Linked DNA regions of Homo sapiens: regions 1, 2, 3, 4, 5 and 6 are each linked to region 7. Evidence: promoter capture Hi-C in 16 types of primary human blood cells and fetal thymus (Javierre and others, 2016). All regions are on one chromosome and are shown on one strand. Each heading gives the region's core, a stretch centred on a gene start or on the middle of the fragment in contact. The rest is flanking DNA. Distances are from core to core; before and after follow the strand shown.

The links. Contacts are between HindIII fragments. The CHiCAGO score rates a contact against its expected background, and 5 or more counts as called.
Region 1: a fragment that was not itself captured here is called in contact with the fragment with the promoter of EPM2AIP1 in region 7 in 4 of 17 cell types (M2 macrophages, M1 macrophages, M0 macrophages and 1 more); the score reaches 17.8 in M2 macrophages.
Region 2: a fragment that was not itself captured here is called in contact with the fragment with the promoter of EPM2AIP1 in region 7 in 1 of 17 cell types (M2 macrophages); the score reaches 10.3 in M2 macrophages.
Region 3: the fragment with the promoter of CLASP2 here is called in contact with the fragment with the promoter of EPM2AIP1 in region 7 in 1 of 17 cell types (M2 macrophages); the score reaches 7.4 in M2 macrophages.
Region 4: a fragment that was not itself captured here is called in contact with the fragment with the promoter of EPM2AIP1 in region 7 in 1 of 17 cell types (M2 macrophages); the score reaches 10.3 in M2 macrophages.
Region 5: a contact is called between a fragment that was not itself captured here and the fragment with the promoter of EPM2AIP1 in region 7, in 1 of 17 cell types (M2 macrophages). The highest score is 8.1, in M2 macrophages.
Region 6: a fragment that was not itself captured here is called in contact with the fragment with the promoter of EPM2AIP1 in region 7 in 3 of 17 cell types (M2 macrophages, M0 macrophages and naive B cells); the score reaches 6.3 in M2 macrophages.

The regions. Positions count from the first base shown.
Region 1 is chr3:33,644,407-33,647,627 of GRCh38, forward strand. CLASP2 (cytoplasmic linker associated protein 2) reads right to left here. Exons shown (of 39, transcript NM_001365631.1): 8 at 351-497. Among named protein-coding and RNA genes, the nearest start is that of CLASP2, 72 kb to the right of the region's middle. The HindIII fragment of the contact is 1,495 bases long and covers 536-2,030 here.
Region 2 is chr3:33,610,894-33,614,264 of GRCh38, forward strand. CLASP2 (cytoplasmic linker associated protein 2) reads right to left here. Exons shown (of 39, transcript NM_001365631.1): 13 at 1,108-1,178. Among named protein-coding and RNA genes, the nearest start is that of CLASP2, 110 kb to the right of the region's middle. The HindIII fragment of the contact is 2,261 bases long and covers 890-3,150 here.
Region 3 is chr3:33,716,571-33,719,722 of GRCh38, forward strand. CLASP2 (cytoplasmic linker associated protein 2) reads right to left here and starts at 1,684. Exons shown (of 39, transcript NM_001365631.1): 1 at 1,238-1,684. The coding sequence starts at 1,432. RefSeq lists a silencer at 1,416-1,755 and an enhancer at 1,956-2,045. The HindIII fragment of the contact is 12,344 bases long and covers 1-3,152 here.
Region 4 is chr3:33,627,923-33,631,501 of GRCh38, forward strand. The region is part of intron 9 of CLASP2 (cytoplasmic linker associated protein 2); the gene reads right to left. Among named protein-coding and RNA genes, the nearest start is that of CLASP2, 89 kb to the right of the region's middle. The HindIII fragment of the contact is 1,381 bases long and covers 569-1,949 here.
Region 5 is chr3:33,783,767-33,787,150 of GRCh38, forward strand. No RefSeq gene overlaps it. Among named protein-coding and RNA genes, the nearest start is that of PDCD6IP-DT, 13 kb to the right of the region's middle. The HindIII fragment of the contact is 2,422 bases long and covers 844-3,265 here.
Region 6 is chr3:33,698,664-33,702,163 of GRCh38, forward strand. The region is part of intron 1 of CLASP2 (cytoplasmic linker associated protein 2); the gene reads right to left. Among named protein-coding and RNA genes, the nearest start is that of CLASP2, 18 kb to the right of the region's middle. RefSeq lists a silencer at 760-960. The HindIII fragment of the contact is 3,773 bases long and covers 1-3,500 here.
Region 7 is chr3:36,991,451-36,994,755 of GRCh38, forward strand. EPM2AIP1 (EPM2A interacting protein 1) reads right to left here and starts at 1,681. Exons shown (of 1, transcript NM_014805.4): 1 at 1-1,681. The coding sequence starts at 1,627. It overlaps MLH1 (mutL homolog 1), which reads left to right and starts at 2,068. Exons shown (of 19, transcript NM_000249.4): 1 at 2,068-2,213. The coding sequence starts at 2,098. RefSeq lists enhancers at 852-931, 962-1,281, 1,402-1,751, 2,122-2,341, 2,258-2,769. The HindIII fragment of the contact is 4,668 bases long and covers 1-2,552 here.

The DNA of each region.
Region 1 (3,221 bases), core at 33-2,532, 3.3 Mb before region 7:
AACAGCTATTGCACTTGAAAATTAGTAGCCAAATTCTGAAAAACCTGTTCTCTGCTTAAAAAAAACAAAAAAACCCCAAAAAACTTCCATAAATCTTTTTCAAAATGGCATCTGAAAAATAAATACCCTCAAGAAGAGACTAATTCACATACATTCTTAGAGGAAATAGCAGTATACAATATTTTATACATTTCAAAAGGGCATCGTATTCTTCTGAATGTTGCAACAGACTCCAGATCTGCAATCGTGCTGCAGTCATGAATAAACATATTCCTCTGAAGTTCCAAGTATGTGTGGCCATATCAAGGGCATGGAGCATGCATAACAGATTTGAAATGGATTTACATTACCTCCAACCTTAGGGCCACCTGCTGAACCAGGCTTCCTTGCACTGTTGGCAGGATTTCCGGATGTTTTAGGTGCAGGAACCTTGAAGGCTGATGCAGCTGATGATGGCCTATTTCCATCCACTGATTCTTCATCATCGAAGCTTTTATCTGCACAAAGCATCAGAAAAATGTATTTAAGAGAACTAAGCTTTGTTCCATTTTCCCTAAAGCTCAAAAATAAAATAAAGCCATATATAAAATCATTACTTTGGTAAGATATATAATACGAAATAAAGGTCCTTTGAATAAGCATTTATATATTGGCTAACACCATATAAAATAATCCTCTGTAATTCAAAATCAAAATGCAGTATTTTCATACTTCTTACTTATACATATTAAGTCAAAACATAAAACATTTTAACTCTAAAGGTAGTAAAAGTATTTTTCATGTTTTTGCTACTCTGCATTTTCTGCCAGCTCCTCCCATAGTGTATCTTCTAGCACGCCCTGCCTTATTCCTTATACCCAGATTCTGCAACTTACAATCACAGATCCGTTTGCAAATCAGTCGCCTCATTCCTCTGAAAGCTCTTAATTTCCCTCACCCTAGGAGGCTCCCAATAGTTCACATGGCCAAATACAGTAAATTCGATACTAATCAAAGATTCTATCAAAAAAAGACAGAAACAACCACAGAACCACCACTGAGGTTTGTGCCGGCATTTTTCTTTCTCTTCCCTGCCCTAGGTGCTGTAACAGCCAATCAGCTACAAGGTGACATCATCTTATGGCAGCTACTGCCAGATGAAAGGTAAAAATTCTCCATGCATCTAAAAAATTCTCTATTAGCTATAATCCTTATTCTATATCAAAATTTCAAAGGCATTCAAAACTAAAGGCTTAGAAATCTGTTTTTCTTATTTGACATGAAAATTTATATAAATAGAAAATAAGGTTTTATGCAATATTCATTCTGCTGGGATGCTTATTGCATCAGTAAAGCATAGACTGCCACAGTGCTCATTACTGTGCATAATTAACTCTGTAATCTTAAAATCTGCTCTTTATTTAAGCCATAGAAACCAAACAAAACAATTTGTTTTCATAAATGATTCTACAAGGCTCCTTTCGGAATATGAATGACCACACTAGTATCATCTACTTATATGCAAATGAAACATCTCCCAGCATACACACACACACACACACACACACACACACACACACACACACACACAATGTATTTTACTCTCCTGAGAAGAGATGGTTTTCTCTAGGACCCTGCACAAATCAACCATGACAAACAACATGGGCGAGGCAGAGAAGCAGCTTTACCACACGCTTCAGATGAATATGCCAGAATCTTTTCCTTTCAATGAACTTTCTTTACTTAAACAAACACCCAATCACCTAGAATTAAATAATTCCTATAAAGAGATATTATTAAATATTTTAAAGAAAAATAACTATTTTTAATATATAACTATTTAACTATTAAATATATCTTAAAATATGCCAAGAAAGTTTTAAGACTTATTTATTAAAAGAAAAAAGAATCAAATAGACACTCTAAAGTCACATTCTATTTCAGAAAGTGTTTTTAAGTAATACAACTTGCAGGAAAAAATTATCTTCTACTCTTAAAAAATTATTTTTTTAGCATAACACTATTAGGGAGTCAGTTTGGATAAATTAATAAGCTTAAAACCTATGCAGTACATAGACGGCTTTGTTAAAAACACTAATACAATTCCAAATAAACTTCTTTGCTACTGTTATGTTAAAAAAAATGCAGCTAAGAAAGAGTAGACATACAAATCTACAGAAAGTTAAGCACTAAAACACAGAGCAGCCAGAAGTTCCCATGGAAACAGTATTCTGTTCCTACACACACACAAGAATTGAAAAGAGTAAATATGTCCCTACCATTAAAAAAAAAATTAACTCTTTTCTCAAACTACTGGGAAATTAATTTTTAAAGTTTTTATCAAAATACAGCAAAGTATACAAATCATAAGTACACAGCTAATTAATTTTCACAAAATGATCATGCCAGTATAACCAGTATCCAGATCCACAGATTACCAGCATCGTGTAAGTACCCTCGAGACTCCTAAAAGTCTACATTTACTACCAAAGCTAACTAGTCTCGAATTCTAACACTTGGTTTTGTTCATTTTTGAACATTATATAAAATGAATCATACAATATGTATTCTGGTATCTAGCTTCTTTTTACTCAATGTTGGAAGGATAATGTTTGGAAGATTCATTTTCATTGCTGATAGTTTTCTACTGTGTGAAAGTACCACAATTTATTAATATCCATTCTACTACCGACAAGACATGGGCTGTTCCAGTATGAGGTTATTATAAAATGGTACTACTAAAAGGTAAGCAAACAAAGTCAAAGGTTTCTAAAGATTTGAGCCTTACTGAGGAAGTAGTAAACACAATAATTTATTTTAGATTATTTTAGATTATAACTATATATAATTAGATTTTAGATTAATAATTTATTTTAGATTATAAGTCAAAGATGCATAGTAATATCTATGGCACCAGTCCTCAAAATGTGGCCCCTATACCAGCAGCTGAGCATCACCGGGCAATTTGTTAAAAATGCAAATTCCTGGGCCCCAACCCAAACCTACTGAATCAGAAACTCTAGAGTAATCTATGTATTAACATACAAGCCCTCCCAGTCATTCTGATGCATGATTGAGTTTAAGAATCACTCCCCTAGGGGAGGGGATGGCATTCTTTTTCTATAAAGGACCACACAGCAAATATTTTAGGCTTTGTAAACCATACACATACGGCCTTTCCATGCAACTACTCAATTATGACATTATAGCTCCAAAGCAGTTATATACACACAATATGTAAA
Region 2 (3,371 bases), core at 770-3,269, 3.4 Mb before region 7:
AATTAAACATATTTACCTAATTTAAAAAGGCAGAGTTCTTTACAATCTTCTTAAACATCAAATGTACAAATCTTGTTTTTCCTGTCTTTATTATTGTTGGCGATAGTGGTGTGAAGTTGTCAGAATCAAAATGAAGTCATTTGTGTTACAACACACACACATACACATACACTTGACAAATGGAGCTGAGGAAGGCCATTAAGGGAGAGTTCTTATGAATAAATGACTGATAACAAGAGCTATCACAAAAGACTCCAAAAAAACACAACCTTGCACAAAGGCTATCGCAACCTTACAAAAACAAACAAACAAACAAAAATTCTGCAAGGACATCTACGCAGCAACTGCCTGTCCAACCTCAAGTTGGCATCACCCTTGTTACTGATCCTTGTAGTCCAGGATAACCACCTCAAAATGATTATGTAATCTTCCTCATTTTTCCTTTAAAAACCTTTGTTTTCCTTTACCTCCCTGAATACGCATAGTTTACTACTGTATGCAAAATACCACTGTAATCCTCATTCCTGCATAAATACTAATATCATTTTCTTTCAGAGAAACTCTCTTGTTATTCAGGTTTACAGGTGTGATGTTAAGAATTGTAGAAACCAGAGACAGAGGCAGACACTAACTGAAAGACCTGATAGGGCTATATACTCCGTTCCAAACACCAGGCTACATTCTACTAATGTGTATCTCATTTAATCCTTATGTTCTACGGGGTTGACATTATTAGCTCTACTAACCTATGCAGGGACTAAGGTTCAGAGCAGTTAAATAATTGCCTAAGGTAGAACAGTCAATGGCAGTTGTAGGACTCAAGCCCAGACCTGACTCTGTACTCCTTGTTCTCTGAAAACCAAGGCAACCAGCAGCCCAAATAAACCAAAGCTTAATATGATAAAACTAAGAAAAGTGGGTGGTCATAATAATCACTTCATCCCTTTTCCCTTACATGAGATATGATTAAAAAAACAAAACAAAACACTTTTTTATGGTTTTCTGGAAGGCAAGAAATGAATGACCAATTCTTGCAGCAGACAAATAATTAAACAATGCAGTATCAGAGCTATACTAACAACAACAACAACAAAAAATTAAACTTACCTCCTCACGGGAACTGATTTTGATGTGCAATTGCTTGTTATTAAAGGTATAAGTCTGGGTACATGAGTATGCTGAAAAAGATGTTTTAGAAAAGGTTGAAAATACTACACACTTCATGTGGTCCTTTCTTCTATTTGCCTTACATTCAAGTATTTAGTTATGTTACAAGAGGACAAAAAGACCAGATATTAGATTTGAAAGAAATTAAGACCAGTCTTGAAAAGTTTTCCTGAATTAATGTAATGTAATGATGATACAGTTTCAAAAGGACAGGTATGGATATAATATGATCTAACAAAGAAAAGTTAACTGTTTAACTGCAAAGAACTGTTAAGACAATATAGTTTTGGGGGAGAGGGAGCACTAAGAGGGACTGGGCATGTACTGGCCACATTTTCTGAAGTACCATGGCTACTGCTGGTAAAAAATCATAATTGCCATGTCATCAAAGCAGGTAGTCGAGTGAATCTATTTCCTTAACTATTGGGAATGCACTTTGAAATGGTGGTCTTAATAGAACTTTCACTTCATTCTGGCTGAATCGTATCTCTCTAGAATTCAAGTAGAAGTTCCATAAAGACATAATCTTCTGATTTCTATTAGTAATTCTTATGCCCTTCTTTAGTGAAGCAAACAGTAAAAAGTTCATAATAGACATTAACATAAGCATACATATTTAATTCCTTAAATCTCCTGTATTCCTTCTGAGCTAATGGTACAGGCTGGGTTATCTAGGAAGCAGGCTATGAGATGGAGTTTAGCATGCAGGATATGTATTAGGAAGTGCCCTTGAAAGACAAATATCACATGTTCTCACTCATGTGGGAGATAAACAAAAGTGGATCTCATGAAGATAGAGAATAGGTTAGTCATGATCAGAGGCTAGGAAGGATAGGGGGAGGAGGGAGTGAAAAGGGGTTGATTAATAGGTATAGAGTTAGAACAATAAGATCTAGTGTTCGATAGTTCAGTAGGTTGACTATGGTTAACAACAATCTATTGTACATTTCAAAATAGCTAAAAGAGAATAATTAGAATGTTCCTAGCATGAAGATAAATATTTAAGGTGATTAATTCCCTATTACCCTAATTTGACACTGACACATGTGAATGCATTAAAATATCACATGTACCCCCAAAATATGTACATTACATATTAATTTTTTGTAAATGCCCTTGGGGTTACCATCTGTGGATGTGAGATGAAGGAAGCAGGAGTGGAGCAGGCAGAGGAAGAAATTGAACTGTGATACAGCCCAAGGCTATCTTTGCCCAAAACCATTACGAAGCTCTAAACTGAAATAGTCCCTGAGAATACTCTTGAATTGGTCCAAGATGGCCAAACCTTTATACTTCCACATCAATCAGTTATTGGATATGGGCAATACTGGGAAGGGGCAACACCTTGGGAAAGGCAGCTCTCTAGCTGAAATAATCCTTTAAGACACTGGCAACAGAAGGCTGTCTACTAACAGTTCTCCTAGCATTGGGGAAACAAGTCTTTCATTGAAGGAAAGTGCATATGGCACATCAGTGTTTGCCACAGCTAACTCAACCAAAATAAATGAAAACCCTTTTTTCAGCCACTAAAGAGAAACGATCTATAGACTTGAAGCTGTTGAAGATGAGAATAATGCAAGAAAGTGTGCTGACATGCCTGTTAGTCAACTGTTTAATTCAGCATGAAAGGACTCTGTGGACCTGCTCCCTACAGCATTCACAAGAGCCCACTTCTCAAACATTACTACGGAGGTAAAACCCATGGAGATCCCCTAGCTACAACAACTATAAAGGAGGTCTTACCTACCACACTTCTCCATTTTTCTTCTAACTTCTGCAAAATCCTAATGCTGGGTTAATCACATCCATGACAGTGGCAAGGATGGAGAGATAAACTAACCTAACCATTGCTACATCATACTCAGGGGGAGCTGTACCAAAGGAAAGTAAAAATTTACATCAATTACAGATGAAGCATTCAATCAAACACTAAGTCAGAACAATTTACACTTTATTAATATAAGTTGACAACAGGGGAAAAAAAGCTTCCTAAAATTAAAAAGAGAATTAGAAATTAAGTACAGCAATCTAAGGAAGTAGACTCTTAGGAAATAAACAAAGCAAAGAAAAACAGGGGTAATATTTAAAAATTATTGCATTATTGGTGAGATGATAGGCTAGTATAATAACGTGAAAAATGAGCAATTTGAAAACAAAGTATAAAGAGTAAAGCCTGAGAATCACAAAATGGGTACTTTCAAATA
Region 3 (3,152 bases), core at 434-2,933, 3.3 Mb before region 7:
AACTATCTTGAGTGTGAATATGTATATGCCTTTCTTACAGAGTAAATTTAGCTTGTTTCTTCCAAAGAAATAATCTCCCAAATGGTAATGATATATTATTAAATTACCTTTTCCCCAAACGTTTTAAAAATAATAATCAAGAGATGGTATGTAATGAAGCATCGACGTGGGTAACTCTCAAACTTTATTGTCCTTGTAAAAAGTCTAACCTTTCCAAAACTCATCTGGGCTTTACCATTAAATCTGCGTCATAATTCTAGAGTTTGTCTTTCTTCTCTTTTTGAATAAAAGGTTTCAAAGTACAGCCTATTCGCTGGATCATGAGAATATGTTACTAAGAAGAATCACTTCATCCATGGGAAGCTGCAGTCAGCATTTTAAAGCAACACTGCCACCAGAAGACAAGAAAGAAAAGTAACTACTAACGACTACGGGGCAAGTTAAATACAAAATATTTACCTGGCCTCCCAACGCGGCTACATTACACCCTGCCTACCACCAACTCTTCAGAAAGGCTCATTCTTTCTCGCACCTCATCTTTGTAACTTTTTCCCCCCCAGCATTAGCCTATCTACTAAGACACATCAACCTAAAATCGTATCCTAATGTCCTATCTGTTGGTCTGGGTAGTGTTTACACAGGTGAACACAAATGTCGAAGTCTTTCACTGATTTTTTTTTCAAAATAAGTGATCAACATTGTGTCCTAGTAACTCCGCAACGTGTCACGGAATCGCTGAATTTGTCATTGTCCACAAGTGTAGAAAAATGTGGTCACAAGTCAGTCCTCGGCTCGCGTACGAAGAGGCGGTCTGCCCAGTGGGGACGCGGGACCCCCCTGTTTCCCCTATTTTTATTTATTTTTTACTTTTTTTGAGACAGAGTCTCACTCTGTCGCCCAGGCTGGAGTGCAGTGGCTCGATCTCGGCTCACTGCAACCTCTGCCTGCTAGATTCAAGCGATTCTCCTGCCTCAGCCTCCTGGGTAGCTGGGATTACAGGCGCCCGCCACCACGCCCGGCTAATTTTTGTATTTTTAGTAGAGACGGGGTTGCACCATGTTGGTCAGGCTGGTCTCGAACTCCTGACCTCGTGATCCGCCCGCCTGTGCTTCCCAAAGTGTGTTTCCCCTCTTAAGCAGTGGTTCGGACGGGAGCTTTCCCGGCCCGGCGCTCGCGTCCGGGATTAAAGGGCTGCCGCGGAGGGCGTGACCAGCCCAGCCTCGCCGCCGTCGCTTACCCGGTAGTTGCTCGAACCCACCCAGCCGGTGAGCGCGTCGACTGTCTTGCCTAGGCGGCCCAGGTCCTCCTCCAGGTCCGAGATGGCGCCGGGGGCGCCAAGGTAGAGCAGGAGCTCCTGGCCGACCTGCAGCCGGCCGCCGACGTCCTTCTGCTGCACCTGGGCGCAGAAGTACTCCATGCTGCGGGGCTCCATGGCTGCGGCCGCCCGCCCGCCTGCCAGTCTGTGAGCGGCCAACTTTCGCCGAGAGCCGCCCAGCCTCCAGTGCGGGTCCCCGCGGGAGCGGGCGGGACTCACTTAGCCCGCCAGGGGCGCGGCTTGCGGGGCGCAGCGGGCGGCGGGAGGAACGCCAAGCGCCCAGCCGCCCCCAAACTAGTCAAACTCGGCGCCCCCCGATCCCCAGCCCGCTTCAGAGGCCGCGGCCGCGGGCGACGTCAGCACGCGCGTGACGTCAGCACGACGCCGGCGAGGGCCCTCCAGTCCGGCTAGCGTTTTGCTGCGGAGGTGGTGGAGGTGGCTGCGGAAACCGCTGGGAGCGATAGGACCTCTAGGGAGACTTGGGGTCCGAGTTGGGCCGAGCCCCCTGGGAGGCGGGCCGTTCTTTGCTAGCCGCTGTCAGGGCACCCTGCCCTCGCCCTGTGAAATGTGGAACGTTTCCAAGTTTGCCTCCACTTGTATTCAACACTTAGGAAAGTACTTGGCATCCCCCTTTCCCGCCCCCACTGCCGGTTTAAAAAAAAAAAAAAAAAAGAATACACTCCTGACTTCTGCTTCCAGCCACCACCACAGTCACTGTGTAATACTTAAAAAAACAAAACAAAACAAAACTTAGGTTTGCCTAAAGTAAAACGCACAGATTTTCAGCGTACACTTCATGAGTTTCGGCAAATGTATTCACCCGTGGAACCGCCACCCCAGTGAGGGTACAGCACGTTTCCAACACCCCAGGAAGTCCCAGGACACTTCCCAATTATCTGCTCTTCCCTAGGCAATTCTAATTTGATTTCTAGCATGGTAACATAGTTTTCCCTGTTCCTGAACTTCATACAGTCTGTGCTTCTTTGGAGTCTGGTTTCTTTTAGCATAACGTTTGGGGTCCATCCAGCGCTGTTGGTGTCTCAGAAGTCCATTCCTTTTTATTGCTTTCCATTCTGTGGAATCACTACCATTTGTCGATCCATTCACTTGTTGGTAGATATTTGGGTTGTTTCCTATTTTTTATAATTATGAATAAAGCTGCTACAACGGTTAGTGCACAAGTTTTTGTGTGGATATATTTTCTTCTCTCATGGGTAAATAAATACCAAGGACTGGCATTACTAGGTCTTGTAAGTTGTATGTTTAACTTTAGAAGAACCTGCCAAATTGTTTACCAAAGTGACTGGATCATATTAAATCCCCACCAGCAATGCTTGAGAGTTCCAGTTGCTCCACAATATTTGATATGGTCAGGGTTATTAGTTTTAGCCATTCTGGTGGGGGTAAAGTTGTCTAATACATTCCAAAAGCACACTGTGTTTATCTTCTTGACAATTATTCCCAATCACAACAAAATGATTATTTATGTAATATCTTTCTCTTCTAATACACAGAAAGCTCCAGGAACCTTTGTGTTTTCCTAGGGTGGTGCCTAGCAAATAATGGGTGGCCAATTTAAGTTAAATGAGTGAATGAATTCAACAAAAATTGATATTTGAAATATTCACAATAACTAAGAATAAACAAACTCAAAATTCAAAGAAATTGACTGTTTTCTGTGTTCTTTTTTCAGTATTTCTGTGTTTCACATTGTATTGAGTTTGTAAAGTTTCTTCCATCTTTAATTGGTTGTAATTTCCCTCAGACTATGCCTCAATCAAGTAAACTATGTGTGATGGTTAATTTTATGTGTCAACTTGACTGGGGCAAGAGATGC
Region 4 (3,579 bases), core at 9-2,508, 3.4 Mb before region 7:
GCCAGAGTAAGGAATAAAAAGTATAAAGGGACTAGGAGAAGAGCCAATGACCCAGGTGTGAGGATGGAACAGCTATAACCATATTGTTGACCATGGAAGGAGACAATGCAGAGGAATTAGAAATGAGAAATAGACTCCTGGTGATACCAACTGAGTACCTTCATCAAACCGCCTTACATCTTTCACTTTCAACAGCTATTAAATTCACCTTTTGCTTAACAGAGAGTAAGAGCAAGAGCAAGAGAGAAAGAAAGAATGCGTGTAAATGCAAAGGAGAACAAGGCATGAGACAAGGCTGAAGAGGTAGATGGTGACCAGGTAACACTGTTATGTGGTTAAAGAAACTTCTGAGCTAGCTCTTTCCTGCCTCTCACCTTCTCTTCACAATACCCCTCTGCCGTTTTCCAGAACCTTCTTCCACCCCTAATCTTATGATGCATTCCCCTGGAACACAATGCAAGGTTCCCCTTCCCCCAATAAGGAAGAAGAGAGTCAACTCAAAAACGTACTTCAGTGAGGGGGTACATAATTCTTCAAACATTCTTTTAGCAGGCATACAAGCAAAAGAAGCTTGAAAACCCACTAAGTTAGGTGTCTGTTGCAGTAGAGTGATTCCTAGGTTTCTAACTTTTGTAATTGATTAAGTAATGGTTTACACACACAGAATACTGGAAGACCATTATTCCAATTTCAAACAGGATAAGTTTGAGGTGTCTTTGAGACATCTGAAAGGGGGTGTCAGGTAAACAATCACAGTGGATAAATCATTTCGGAACTCAGGAGAGGTCTGGCTTGGAGGTTAAAATCTCGGCATTATCTAGATAAACGTGGGAACTGAAGCCAGGGGTTTGAAGGAGGTGACTCAGTAAGAAAATAGAGAATGAGAAGACAGGGCCCAGAACTAACCCTTAAGAAATTCCAATATTCAACAGGCAAGTAGAGAAGGATGTGCCTATAAAGAGACAGAGATGAAGTGGACAAAGATGTAGGGGGAATAAAATGGAAGAACATCATATCACAAGCACCTAAAATTAAACAACAAAACAGTGACTATAGTCAACAGTGCTAAATACTGGTAGAAGAACAAGAAAAAAAAAAATCCCAAACTGGTTGATTTTGGTGCCTCAACGATGATCAGTGATTTACTCAAGACCTGTTTCAATGTAAGAATAAGCTAGAAAGAAGTGGGATGAAGTGAGTAACAAGTTAAGTTACAGAAATACCAAGTACAGACAACTCTTTTGGAAAAGTTGACTGTGAGGGCCAAAATAAAAAATAGTATCTGGAAGATATGGAGTCCAGTGAGACTTTTGTTTTTTAAACTGAAGAACCCAGCCACGTTAAGAGATAAACAGAAAGAGCTTGAACCTACATGAGATTACTGATTGTGTAAATGTGTTAAGGAAGCAGAAAATACTAGGCTTTGAAGCACTGGTGGAGGTGCTGGCCCTTGAAGAAGGACCATGTTTCTGGAGCAACAGGACAGAAGGAATGCACAGCAGAGAAGAATGTAACAGAAAGATCATGTTTCCATTTGATGGTGACTACTTATTTACTAAAGTAAGGGGCTAGGTCATATACTGAGAGAAGAGAGGAGGACAGAGACAGGCTGGCTGATGGATAGAAAGGAAAGAAACATGTCTGATAGCTATATTAAGCAGAGAAATAACTGATCACAGAAACATAGTAAGCATATCAGATTGTTGAGGGTTCATTTTATGTGAATTCCAGTAAAAATCATGAGCCCTAACATGTGACTTTCTCTAGCAGCACGGTTTCAGGACACAGAGAAAATAAAAAGTTGGGAATATCCACAGTTGTAGTTTTGCAAAATGAGTATTAAAAAAAAATCATTGCTTAATACTTTGCTATGAAAAAAAAAAAACGAGAGAACCAAGGGATTTTAGTATAATATGTACAGTCCTACTGCAAGAAACCATGGTTATCAAAGCTTAGATAAGAAGGAAATCAAGCATAGATGAGAAGGAAAGTATAAAGTGACAGATGATTAATTCAGAGTGAGTAGAAAAAACAATGGACTGACGATCCTTGAAATCGTGCAGAAGTAGTTGTTAGAGTACTTAAAAAAGCAAGGAGATCCTAGTCAGTAATGAGATACTTCAATTAATGACTTTGGAAACGTAACGGTAACACACAGATGATATCAAAATCCAATGTGTGACTATGAACTGGGTAGCTACAGTGAAAGTGAGGAGGAGGTCTAGAAACTGAATTCATCAAGAATGTGTGAAAATTTAGGAAAATAATAATAGCTAACATATACTTCTTACACTTCATCTGTACTGTCATAGCCTCACAATAACCCTCGGCATATGTACGAATAATTCCTATTTTAAGATGAGGAAACTGAAGTACAGAGGGTTAAGTAATGTACCTAAGGTTACACAGCTAGTGTGGCAGAGCTGGGATTCAAACCTAGGCAGCACTGGAATGTTGTCAAGATCAGTACATGCCAATAATAAGAAGGCTGGTCAGGGAGCATGAACCTCATATAAATGGGTATAGGAATAATGGTCACAAAGTAATAATGAGGAGTGCAAGCACAATAAACTTATTATCAATTACTATGAGTATGAGAGCCGAGAATAATAAACAGCTTTATCTTTAAAGAGCGTAAAAAAAAAATCAGATTCTAATCAAGGCAAGAACATTGAACGGACTCTTTAAAAATGGGGTTAAAGACTTAGGGGAGTTGCTGCTTATGAAAAAGATGTTTCCAAGGGAACAATGGAAGGTGTGGAACACCTTTACAGGGTGGTGAGGGTGGCAGAGAGGGCCAGCTGGAAGAAAGCAATGAGTAATTATAAAATAGCTTTTTCCCCTCCGTATAGTTGAATAGCCCTTGGCTGCCCATACCATGATGTTACCAGTCTGACAAGAACATATCAAACAATAAAAATATTCAAGTTCAACTAAGTTTTACTGATTGTTCCTACAACACTAATCTTTCCCTTATATGAAAGCCTGTAAAACACAAAAGGAGGAAGGGATATGTTTTCCCTATTATTTAAAAAGTATCTTAAAATAAGAAAAAACATATATCTCAATAAAGGGATAAAATACAGTCAAATCAGAAAACTTTTTAAGGCTTTCTTGTAACTTTTTAAGATCTTAAATACCTTAAGGACAATTTTCCTTTCAGAGAGCTAAAAAGGTAATACAGGCAATAGAAGGTAGTTTGCAAGTAAAGCAATGTGAGAATATTTTCAAATAGACATGCTAAAGAGTATTCATACTCATCATACCGGTAAAAATATTTTGAGTGACAACAACAAGTATTGGCAAGGATATGATGAAATTAGAACTATCATACCTTTCTCACAGGAGTTTTAACTGGTAAAACAACCCTACAGGGTAACATCTAAGTAAACTTAAAGATTATAACTATGAAATTCTACTCCTATGTTTATATCCTAAAGAAACTCCTACCTACAAATAATCAAGGACATATGTACAAAAATATTCATTGCAGGCTGGTGTGGTGGCTCACGCCTGTAACCCCAGCACTTTGGGAGGCCAAGGTGGGTGGATCACTTGAGGTGAGGAGTTCGAGACCAG
Region 5 (3,384 bases), core at 805-3,304, 3.2 Mb before region 7:
ACCATGTTGGCCAGGCTGGTCTCGAACTCCTGACCTCAAGTGATCTGCCCGCCTTGGCCTCCCAAAGTGCTGGGTTTACAGGTGTGAGCCACCACGCCTGGCCTAATTTTGTTCAGATGTTACAAGTGTCTATAGTCAATCTTCACATTGCCAGTTTGGTTGGTTATAGGATTTCTAGGTTGGAAGGCATTTTCCATCACATTGAAGACACTCTTCCATTGTCTTCTTCCTTCAAATGTTGCTGAGAAGCCCAGAGTCATTTTTATTATCATTCCTTGTACATGGCCTGTTTTTTCTCCCTCTCCAGACACTTAGAACATTATCTCTTTGTCTCTAATGTTCTGATATTTCACAATGTATGGGCCTATAAGAGTAGAAAATTCCACATGTCAGAAACCTGATGCTTTAAAATTCCATAAATATAACCAAAACACAAGCAAAAAATTGGGGAAAATATTTGCAACTTGAAAAATAAAGGGTTATTACTCTTATAATAGAAAGCACTCTTAGAAGAAAAATTCTACAAAAGAAATATTCAAAATAGCCATTTTAAAGAGTACATCTGTAGGTCTAGAACTGAAAGGGAAAAAAAGGAAAAAAGTACAAAAGTGTACAAAAAATCAGCCAAGAAACATATAGAAAAATCCATAGACTTACTAGAAATAAAATTAATGCAAATTAAAACTGTGAGGAACAATTTTTCATCTTTTTAATTGGTGAAGACTAAAAAAAAAACTCAAAATAGCTAATGTTGGTTAGGTTTCAGTACTTTCATACACTGTTGTTAGAAATGCAGTCAACCATCTCTTCTAGATGAGGCAAAATTCCGTAAGCCAGATCAAAAGCTTTAAAAAATGTCCATGTTAGGCCAGGTACAGTGGCTCAGGCCTGTAATCCGAGCACGTTGGGACTGAGGTGGGAGGATCACTTGAGCCCAGGAGTTGGAGACCAGCCTGTGCAACATAGTGAGACCCTGTCTCTACAAAAAATAAAACAATTAGCTAGGCATGGTGGATGTGCCTGTAAGTCCTAGCTGCTTGGGAGGCTGAGGCAGGAGGATCATTTGAGCCCAGGAGTTTGAGGCTACAGTGAGCTATGATTGCACCATTGCACTCTACCCTGGGTGACAGAGTGAGACTCTTGTTTCAAAAAAAAAAACAAATCAGTACTTAGAATAATCAGTACTTTGTTGGAATAATCCAACAAAATAATAATGAATGACAAATGCACATAAAGAGTTAACTACCATCTTGGCCATGTTGTTTACAACATCAAGAAAGTGGAAACAGGTCAGGTGGGGTGACACATCTGTAACCCCAGTGCTTTAGGAGACTGAAGCAGAAGGATTGTTTGAGGCCAGGAGTTAAAGACCAGCCTGGGCAACATAGCGAGACCCCATCTCTACAAAGAGTTTAAAAATTAGCTGGGGATGGTGGTGTCTGCCTGTAGTACTGGCTACTCAGGAGGCTGAAGCAGGAGGATCATCTGAGCTCAGGAGTTTGATGCTACAGTGAGCTATGATTGCACCACTGCATTCCACCCTGGGTGATGGAGTGAGACCCTGTCTCTCTTAAAAAAGAAAAGAAAAGAAAAAAAGAGTAGAAACAACCTAAATACTCAAAAATAGACAATTGGCTTAAGTCACTCCCATGGCAATGGGATGTTTCAGCAGTTTTAAAGCAAATAAGAAGGCCACTAGCCTGAGGTTGTCTCTGCACCCTGAGCCCTTACATAAGCAAGCTGAAGCCTTATTTATTTATTTATTTGTTTATTTATGTATTTATGTATTTTTATGAGATGGAGTCTCACTCTGTCACCCAGGCTGGAGTGCAGTGGCATGATCTCAGCTCATTGCAACCTCTGGCTCCCGGGTTTAAGCGATTCTTCTGCCTCAGCCTCCCGAGTAGCTGGGATTACAGGCACGTGCCACCACACCGGGCTAATTTTTTATATTTTTGGTAGACAGGGTTTCACCATGTTGGCCTAGCTGGTCTCAAACTTCTGACCTCAAGTGATCTGCCCGCCTCGGCCTCCCAAAGTGCTGGGATTACAGGTGTGAGCCACCGTGCCCAGCCCAAAGCCTAATTTAGAGGTATTTCTTATAACTGACTTAAATAGACAAACAAAAATACAGCCCTAACCAATCACAAACAGCCACTGAGTGAATTGGCTATATAACTAGGTGTCTCCCATCAGATTATACCCAAATAAGGCAAACACTTAGCTGTAGCAATTCAGGTAATTTCTTCACTTTGCTTCTGTGTTCAGCCTATAATAGGTAGGTGCTTCCAGAGCAGAGCCCATAACCTCTTTTGGTCTTGGTGCTTCCCAATTCATGAATCATTCTTTTACTCAAATAAATGTGTTAATTTCATTTAAACTTTTTTTTTTAACAGCAAGATATCATATTAAATTTATCATATAAAAAGTGGCCGTTATTGGTAAGAGGTTGACTTGGGGAAGTGAAATGAGATTTGGTGAGAAAAAAAACTCTCTGCACTCTGTCCATCATTTATTAATAGAATGTTTTCTTTCTAGAGATGAACTATTTCTACTTCTAAACATTGAGGAGATACAAAGAAGGGCTTTTGGCTAGATATGGTGGCTCATACCTGTAATCCCAGCACTTTGGCAGGCTAAGGCAGGAGAATCACTTGAGTCCAGGAGCTCAAGACCAGCCTGGGCAAAAAGCAAGACCCCATTACTATTAAAAAAAAAAAAAAAAAAAAAAAAAAAGAGGCTTTCAGCAATGATAGTGATAAAATTACAAAAAAAAAAAAAAAAAAAAAAAGCAACAGTAACTAACATTGAGTACTTACTGTGTTCTGGGCAGCCTGTCAGGTATTTAATGTATTTTATTTAACTCCCATGATAGCCCTTTGGGGTAGGTAGTATTCTTTATCATCTTTAGGTGTGAAGACTGAGGCTTAGAGACGTTGAGTGAACGGCCTAGAGTGAGTGACACAGCTGATAAATATTGTAGTTAGAATTTAAACTCTGGAAGTCAGGATTCCAGACATTCTTATCCACTGGGCTGAACTGCCTCGAATAAGTAAAGCATCTCCGTTAGTGGAGATCCCCTAATAGCCCTCTGTTCTGGGAGACATACCGAGGGATCATTTTAATTAGGTAGATGTAAGGAAACACAGGGGAAGGTTGTAGCTGGACATGTGGGAATTGACAATGAAGCTCTTTTCATCATTTTCTTTGGTACATGAAGTTCAAAGGCTGCTGGGAGAAAGTCAGCAAATTTTCCCAAAGACTAAGCTTCTGGGAAGGCAGTTACTGAGACCCCTGATCACTTCCTTTAGGAGGGTTAATATTGCTATATCACCTCTGGACTGGAATGGCCCTGACCTGACGTGGCAGCAGCAAAAGACAGGA
Region 6 (3,500 bases), core at 383-2,882, 3.3 Mb before region 7:
CTATAGCAATCATAACATTGAAACCTAACTCAACTCCTGACTAGACTGACTGCATAGCTCCACACTATATGTAAGTTTAGCAGAAAAAAGGCATGTCATCTCCAGGCATAAGTACTATTTAACTTGCTCTTAAACATCTTAAACACTGTCCAGTTTTCAACCACACATTATGAGACACACAAAAAAGCAAGGAGGGATAAATACCAATATCAAGAATAAAGCATGGAACAAAATACATAGATAATCTGAAAGCTGGAATTATCAGACCATTTAAATAACTGTGATTAATGTAGTAAATGTTCTAGTTAAAAGAGCCAACAACATGCAGGAATAAAAGGAATTCCAGCAGAGAGACCAAAACTTTAAGGCAGAGTCAAAATACAAATAATTTTTTAAATGCATTAAAAGCAAGGTAAAAGTGATTAAGATGCCTTTGATGGGTTCATCAAAAGATTTGATACAGAGAAGGAAAGAATCAGGGAATCTGAAAATACGTTCATACAAATTACTCAAATTGAAATACAAAAAGGAACAAAAAGGGAAGGGGAGAGACAAAGCATTCAAGAGCAGTGGGATAATACTAAATTGCCCAACATAATGTCATAGGAATTCTAGAAGAGAGAACAAGGTAGAAGAAATATTTGGAGGGAAAATGGCCAAGAATATAGGAAAAATAATGAAAGGCATCAAACCATACATCTAAGTCTCAGAAAACCCCCAAACAGAAAATTCCAAAAAACACCAAGACACATCCTATTCAAACTGTTAAAACCAAAGGAAAGAAAAATCTTAAAGTCAATGAGAAAAAAACAAAAGGACATTAAATACACAAGTACAGAAGATTTCCGGCCAAAAAGTATGAGAGTAAGGAGACAATGGAATGACATTGTTACAGTATAGTAGTCCCCCCTTATCTGTTTAAGTAATACATCCCAAGACCCCAGTGGATACCTGAAACCACAGACAGTACTGAGACCTATATATAAATTTTCCTACAAATATATACCTATGATAAAGTTTAATTTATAAATTTGGCACAGTAAAAGATTAACAATAATAAAGTATAATAACCATAACAATATACTATAACAAAAGTTACGTGTGTCTTGTCTCTCTTAAAATTTATATTGTACTTACCTGCTTTGGGACTACAACTGACCACAGGTAAGTGAAACCGTAGAAAGCAAAACCACAGATTATTGTACTACCAAAAAAAAAAAAAAAAAGAATGCTGTCGCTTCATAATTCTATACCTAGTTAAAATAAAAGATATTTTAAAAGACATTTTAAAACTAAAGGAGAAATAAAAAGTTTTTCAAACAAACAAAATCTAATAGAATTCATTACAAGAGACCTGTATCACAAGAAATGTTAAGGGAAAATCTTCAGGGAAAAAAATACATGACAGCAGACAAAAACTTAGATCTACACTAAGAAATAACAGGAAATAGTTGAAATTAAAATAAATATTTAAAACCTTAAAAATAAGCTGGGAACAGTGGCTCATGCCTGTAACCCCAGCACTTTGGAAGGCAGGAAGATCACCTGAGGTCAGGAGTTCGAGACCAGCCTGGCCAGCATGGCAAAACCCCATCTCTACTAAAAATACAAAAATTAGCTGGGTGTGGTGGCACATACCTGTAATCCCAGCTACTCAGGAGGCTGAGGCACGAGAATCATCTGAACTTGGAAGGCAGAGGTTGCAGTGAGCTGAGATTGTGTCACTGCACTCCAGCTGGCAACAAAGCAAGACACTGTCTCAAACAAACAAACAAAAAAACCTTAAAAATATATGTATTTAATTACTCTAAAAACTAACTGACACTCTAAAACAAATACTAGGTCTATTGAGTTTAGTAAAGTCATGAGATAAAAGGTCACTATAAAAAAATCAATTGTGGGCCAGGTGCGGTGGCTCATGCCTGTAATCCCAGCACTTTGGGAGGGTGAGGCAGGCAGATCACCTGAGGTCAGGAGTTCGAGACCAGCCCAACCAACATGGTAAAACTCTGTCTCTACTAAAAAATACAAAAAAAATTAGCCAGGTGTGGTGGTGGGTGCCTGTAATCCCAGCTACTCGGGAGGCCGAGGCAGGAGAATCATTTGAACCTGGGAGGCAGAGGTTACAGTGAGCTGAGATCGCGCCATTGCACTCTAGCCTGGGTGACAAGAGTGAAACTCCGTCTCAAAAAAATAAAACAAAACAAACTGTGTTCCTACAGACCAGCACTCAACAATTGGGAATTTTCAAAATACTGTATCATTTACAAAACTAACAACAATCACAAAATACTTAGATATAATTCTAACAATTAAGTCCAAGATCTACATGCTGAAATCACAAAATGCTAATGAAAGTGATAGAAAAAGAGCTAAATAAATGGTATATACACACATACACATACATATATACACCAAGTTCATGAATTGGACAACTTAATATTATAAAGATTTGAAACCCCACAAATTGTTCTTGTGTGAATGCAATCCCAATCAAAATTCCAGTAGAATTTGATGCAGAAATCGACAAGCTGATCCTGAAATGTATATAGAAAGGTAAATGAATTAGAATACTCATATCAATATTGAGTAAGAAAAATGAAGTTACAGTGCAATTATCTGATTTGAAGACTTAATATAAACCTACAGTAATCAAGACAATGTGGGGGCTGTAAGAGGCACATGCCTGTAATCCCAGCACTTCTGGAGGCTGAGACAAGAGGATCGCTGGAGACCTGCCTGGGCAACATAGCGAGAACCTGTCTCTACAAAAAATTTTAAAAGTAGCTGGCCATGGTGGCACAGGCATATAATACCAGTTACTCAAGAGGCTGAAGCAGGAGGATTGCTTGAGCCCAAAAGTTTGAAGCTGTAGTGACCTATGAATGCACCACTGCACTCCAGCCTGGGTAACAGAGTAATACCCTGTCTCAAAAGAACAAACAAATATATAGATCAATGAAACAGAAGAGGCAGTCCAAAAATAGACATACACATATATAGTCAACTGATCTCCAACAACTGTGCAAAGGCAATTCAATGAAGGAAAGAAATATACTTTTTCAATAAATGGTGATGTTACAATTGGATATCCATGTGCAAAATAAAAAATGAACCTCAACCTATACATCACATCATTTACAAAAATCAACTCAAAAATGTATGAGATATAAACATAAAACCTAAAACTATAAAACTACTAGAAGAAAACACAGGAGAAAATCTTTACACCTGGAGTACACAAATAATTCTTAGAGACAACATGAAAAGAAACATAAAAGAAAAAAACATAAAAGATTCTTGGAGACAACATAAAATTTTAAAAATTGATAAAGCAGACTTCACTAAGAACTTCTGCTGTTTAAAAGACATGGCTAAGAAAATGAAAAACCCAGTCACAGATTAAGAGAAAATATTTGCAAAATACTTATCTGATAGCCAACTGGGTTCACTGTAGAGTTTAAGAAGCCTATTCTAAAATTCATATGAAAATTCAAGGG
Region 7 (3,305 bases), core at 431-2,930:
CCCCTTTGATAATTGGGTAGGATTCAGCAGACAATCCAGCATAAAACTGCCCCAAGTCTTTGATTCTGTATTCATTCCAAAGATTAGTGTTTGCCTGAAGTTTTGTTAGCTCCACCCTCACTGAAATAGGTGCATATTCAGGTTTAAAGTTAAATGGATTTGAAAAAAGTTCTAAGTCCTTTTTAATGAACCTGAGGTCCTTAAAATGTCTCTCAAATTCTTTTTGGAGACGACAGATCACCATTTGATACCTATCAGGATCAAATATTTTTTCATCTTCCTTATTTTGCTGTTTTAGCTCATCAACAACTTCTCTGAGGGCAGGAAAGTCTGTTAGATTTTTTTCCTCAATATGTCTTTGAAATAAATTCAGCTTAACTTCGAAAGTACAAATATGGTCAAAGGCAGCAGCAGCAAAGACTTTACTAACTCGTAATTCTTCACTGAGTTCTCGAAGGTGTTCCATAATGTCCACCAAGAAGCCAAAGTCACAAAGCCATTGTTTGTCTGAGAAGTGGACTGTTGTTGCCCCTACTGAAACCAAGAACGCTTCCATTTCTTTTCTTAGAGAGAATATTAGTTTTAAAGTTTTCCCTCTCCTAAGCCAATTGTTCAGACATCGTCCATTAACCCTTTCACCATGCTCTGATTCAGATTCCGTTAGTAAAGTCTGAAATTCAGGTCGCCTAACGCCTCTGGTCTTAATCAAAACTATCCATTCGGATATGGTATTTATGATCTGATTAACATCTACATCATAGGAGCTCAACAGTTCCAAGTGAAGAAATCCTGAATAATGAATGACATTCCAACAGTTGGGGCTTACGGCCTTTTCTCTCATGTATGAGACGAGTCCTGAGTTCTCACCAATCATCCTCAAAGTATGGGTCGTGGTCAGTCCAACCATTCTCTGCAAGCTAAGCCCTGCTGTCTGCAGGGACTCTAGGATTGCCGACATGAGCGCACCAACACTGAAATGATGAGTCAGGTTGATTATGGTCAGAAGATCTTCTTGCACCTCCAACTCAGGGCCTACACCGCGGATAAAGACCAGGAGGTAGTTCTCATAGGCCACAAAAGCCTGGTCGTCCAAGGCAAGAGAATAGGCTTTAAAGTCCCTGGCTCGGTTAAAAAGCTGGTTGCGTAGATTCCTGTCAATGCTCAGGATCCTCTGCCTTGTGATATCTGGAGATAAGTCAACGCCTTGCAGGACGCTTACATGCTCGGGCAGTACCTCTCTCAGCAACACCTCCATGCACTGGTATACAAAGTCCCCCTCACCCCAGCCGCGACCCTTCAAGGCCAAGAGGCGGCAGAGCCCGAGGCCTGCACGAGCAGCTCTCTCTTCAGGAGTGAAGGAGGCCACGGGCAAGTCGCCCTGACGCAGACGCTCCACCAGGGCCGCGCGCTCGCCGTCCGCCACATACCGCTCGTAGTATTCGTGCTCAGCCTCGTAGTGGCGCCTGACGTCGCGTTCGCGGGTAGCTACGATGAGGCGGCGACAGACCAGGCACAGGGCCCCATCGCCCTCCGGAGGCTCCACCACCAAATAACGCTGGGTCCACTCGGGCCGGAAAACTAGAGCCTCGTCGACTTCCATCTTGCTTCTTTTGGGCGTCATCCACATTCTGCGGGAGGCCACAAGAGCAGGGCCAACGTTAGAAAGGCCGCAAGGGGAGAGGAGGAGCCTGAGAAGCGCCAAGCACCTCCTCCGCTCTGCGCCAGATCACCTCAGCAGAGGCACACAAGCCCGGTTCCGGCATCTCTGCTCCTATTGGCTGGATATTTCGTATTCCCCGAGCTCCTAAAAACGAACCAATAGGAAGAGCGGACAGCGATCTCTAACGCGCAAGCGCATATCCTTCTAGGTAGCGGGCAGTAGCCGCTTCAGGGAGGGACGAAGAGACCCAGCAACCCACAGAGTTGAGAAATTTGACTGGCATTCAAGCTGTCCAATCAATAGCTGCCGCTGAAGGGTGGGGCTGGATGGCGTAAGCTACAGCTGAAGGAAGAACGTGAGCACGAGGCACTGAGGTGATTGGCTGAAGGCACTTCCGTTGAGCATCTAGACGTTTCCTTGGCTCTTCTGGCGCCAAAATGTCGTTCGTGGCAGGGGTTATTCGGCGGCTGGACGAGACAGTGGTGAACCGCATCGCGGCGGGGGAAGTTATCCAGCGGCCAGCTAATGCTATCAAAGAGATGATTGAGAACTGGTACGGAGGGAGTCGAGCCGGGCTCACTTAAGGGCTACGACTTAACGGGCCGCGTCACTCAATGGCGCGGACACGCCTCTTTGCCCGGGCAGAGGCATGTACAGCGCATGCCCACAACGGCGGAGGCCGCCGGGTTCCCTGACGTGCCAGTCAGGCCTTCTCCTTTTCCGCAGACCGTGTGTTTCTTTACCGCTCTCCCCCGAGACCTTTTAAGGGTTGTTTGGAGTGTAAGTGGAGGAATATACGTAGTGTTGTCTTAATGGTACCGTTAACTAAGTAAGGAAGCCACTTAATTTAAAATTATGTATGCAGAACATGCGAAGTTAAAAGATGTATAAAAGCTTAAGATGGGGAGAAAAACCTTTTTTCAGAGGGTACTGTGTTACTGTTTTCTTGCTTTTCATTCATTCCAGAAATCATCTGTTCACATCCAAAGGCACAATTCATTTTGAGTTTCTTTCAAAACAAATCGTTTGTAGTTTTAGGACAGGCTGATGCACTTTGGGCTTGACTTCTGATTACCCTATTGTTAAATTAGTGACCCCTCTTAGTGTTTTCCTGTCCTTTATTTCGGAGGACGCACTTCGAAGATACCAGATTTTATGGGTCATCCTTGGATTTTGAAGCTTATAACTGTGACAAAAAATGTGAAGGGAAGAGATTTGAAACATGTGGAAGGAAAAGTGAGTGCAGACTATAAACTTCCAAAAAGACAAGCCCAAAATACACCTAAACGTTATGTCAGATTATTTTGTTAAAATCAGTTGTTAGTGACGTCCGTACGTTAATAGAAAAAAGAATGCTTCAGTTTGGAGTGGTAGGTTTCTAGAGGGATTTATTGTGAAAGTATAAACTATTCAGGGCAATGGGACTGAGAGAACAGTGGGTAGAAAGGACCACTGAAGGAAAGGAAGAGAATTGGAAGGTAGATGAAAGAAGGAGCAAGAACCTGGGGATGTTTTTTCCTTTTCACTTGTAATAGTAGTAACAGAAGCAATGGCAGACTGGCTTTTGTTTCTACTGTGTTAGAATGAATTGACAGGACAACTGGGCCTATTATTGTACTGTGCCAGAATACTGTAAAACAAAACT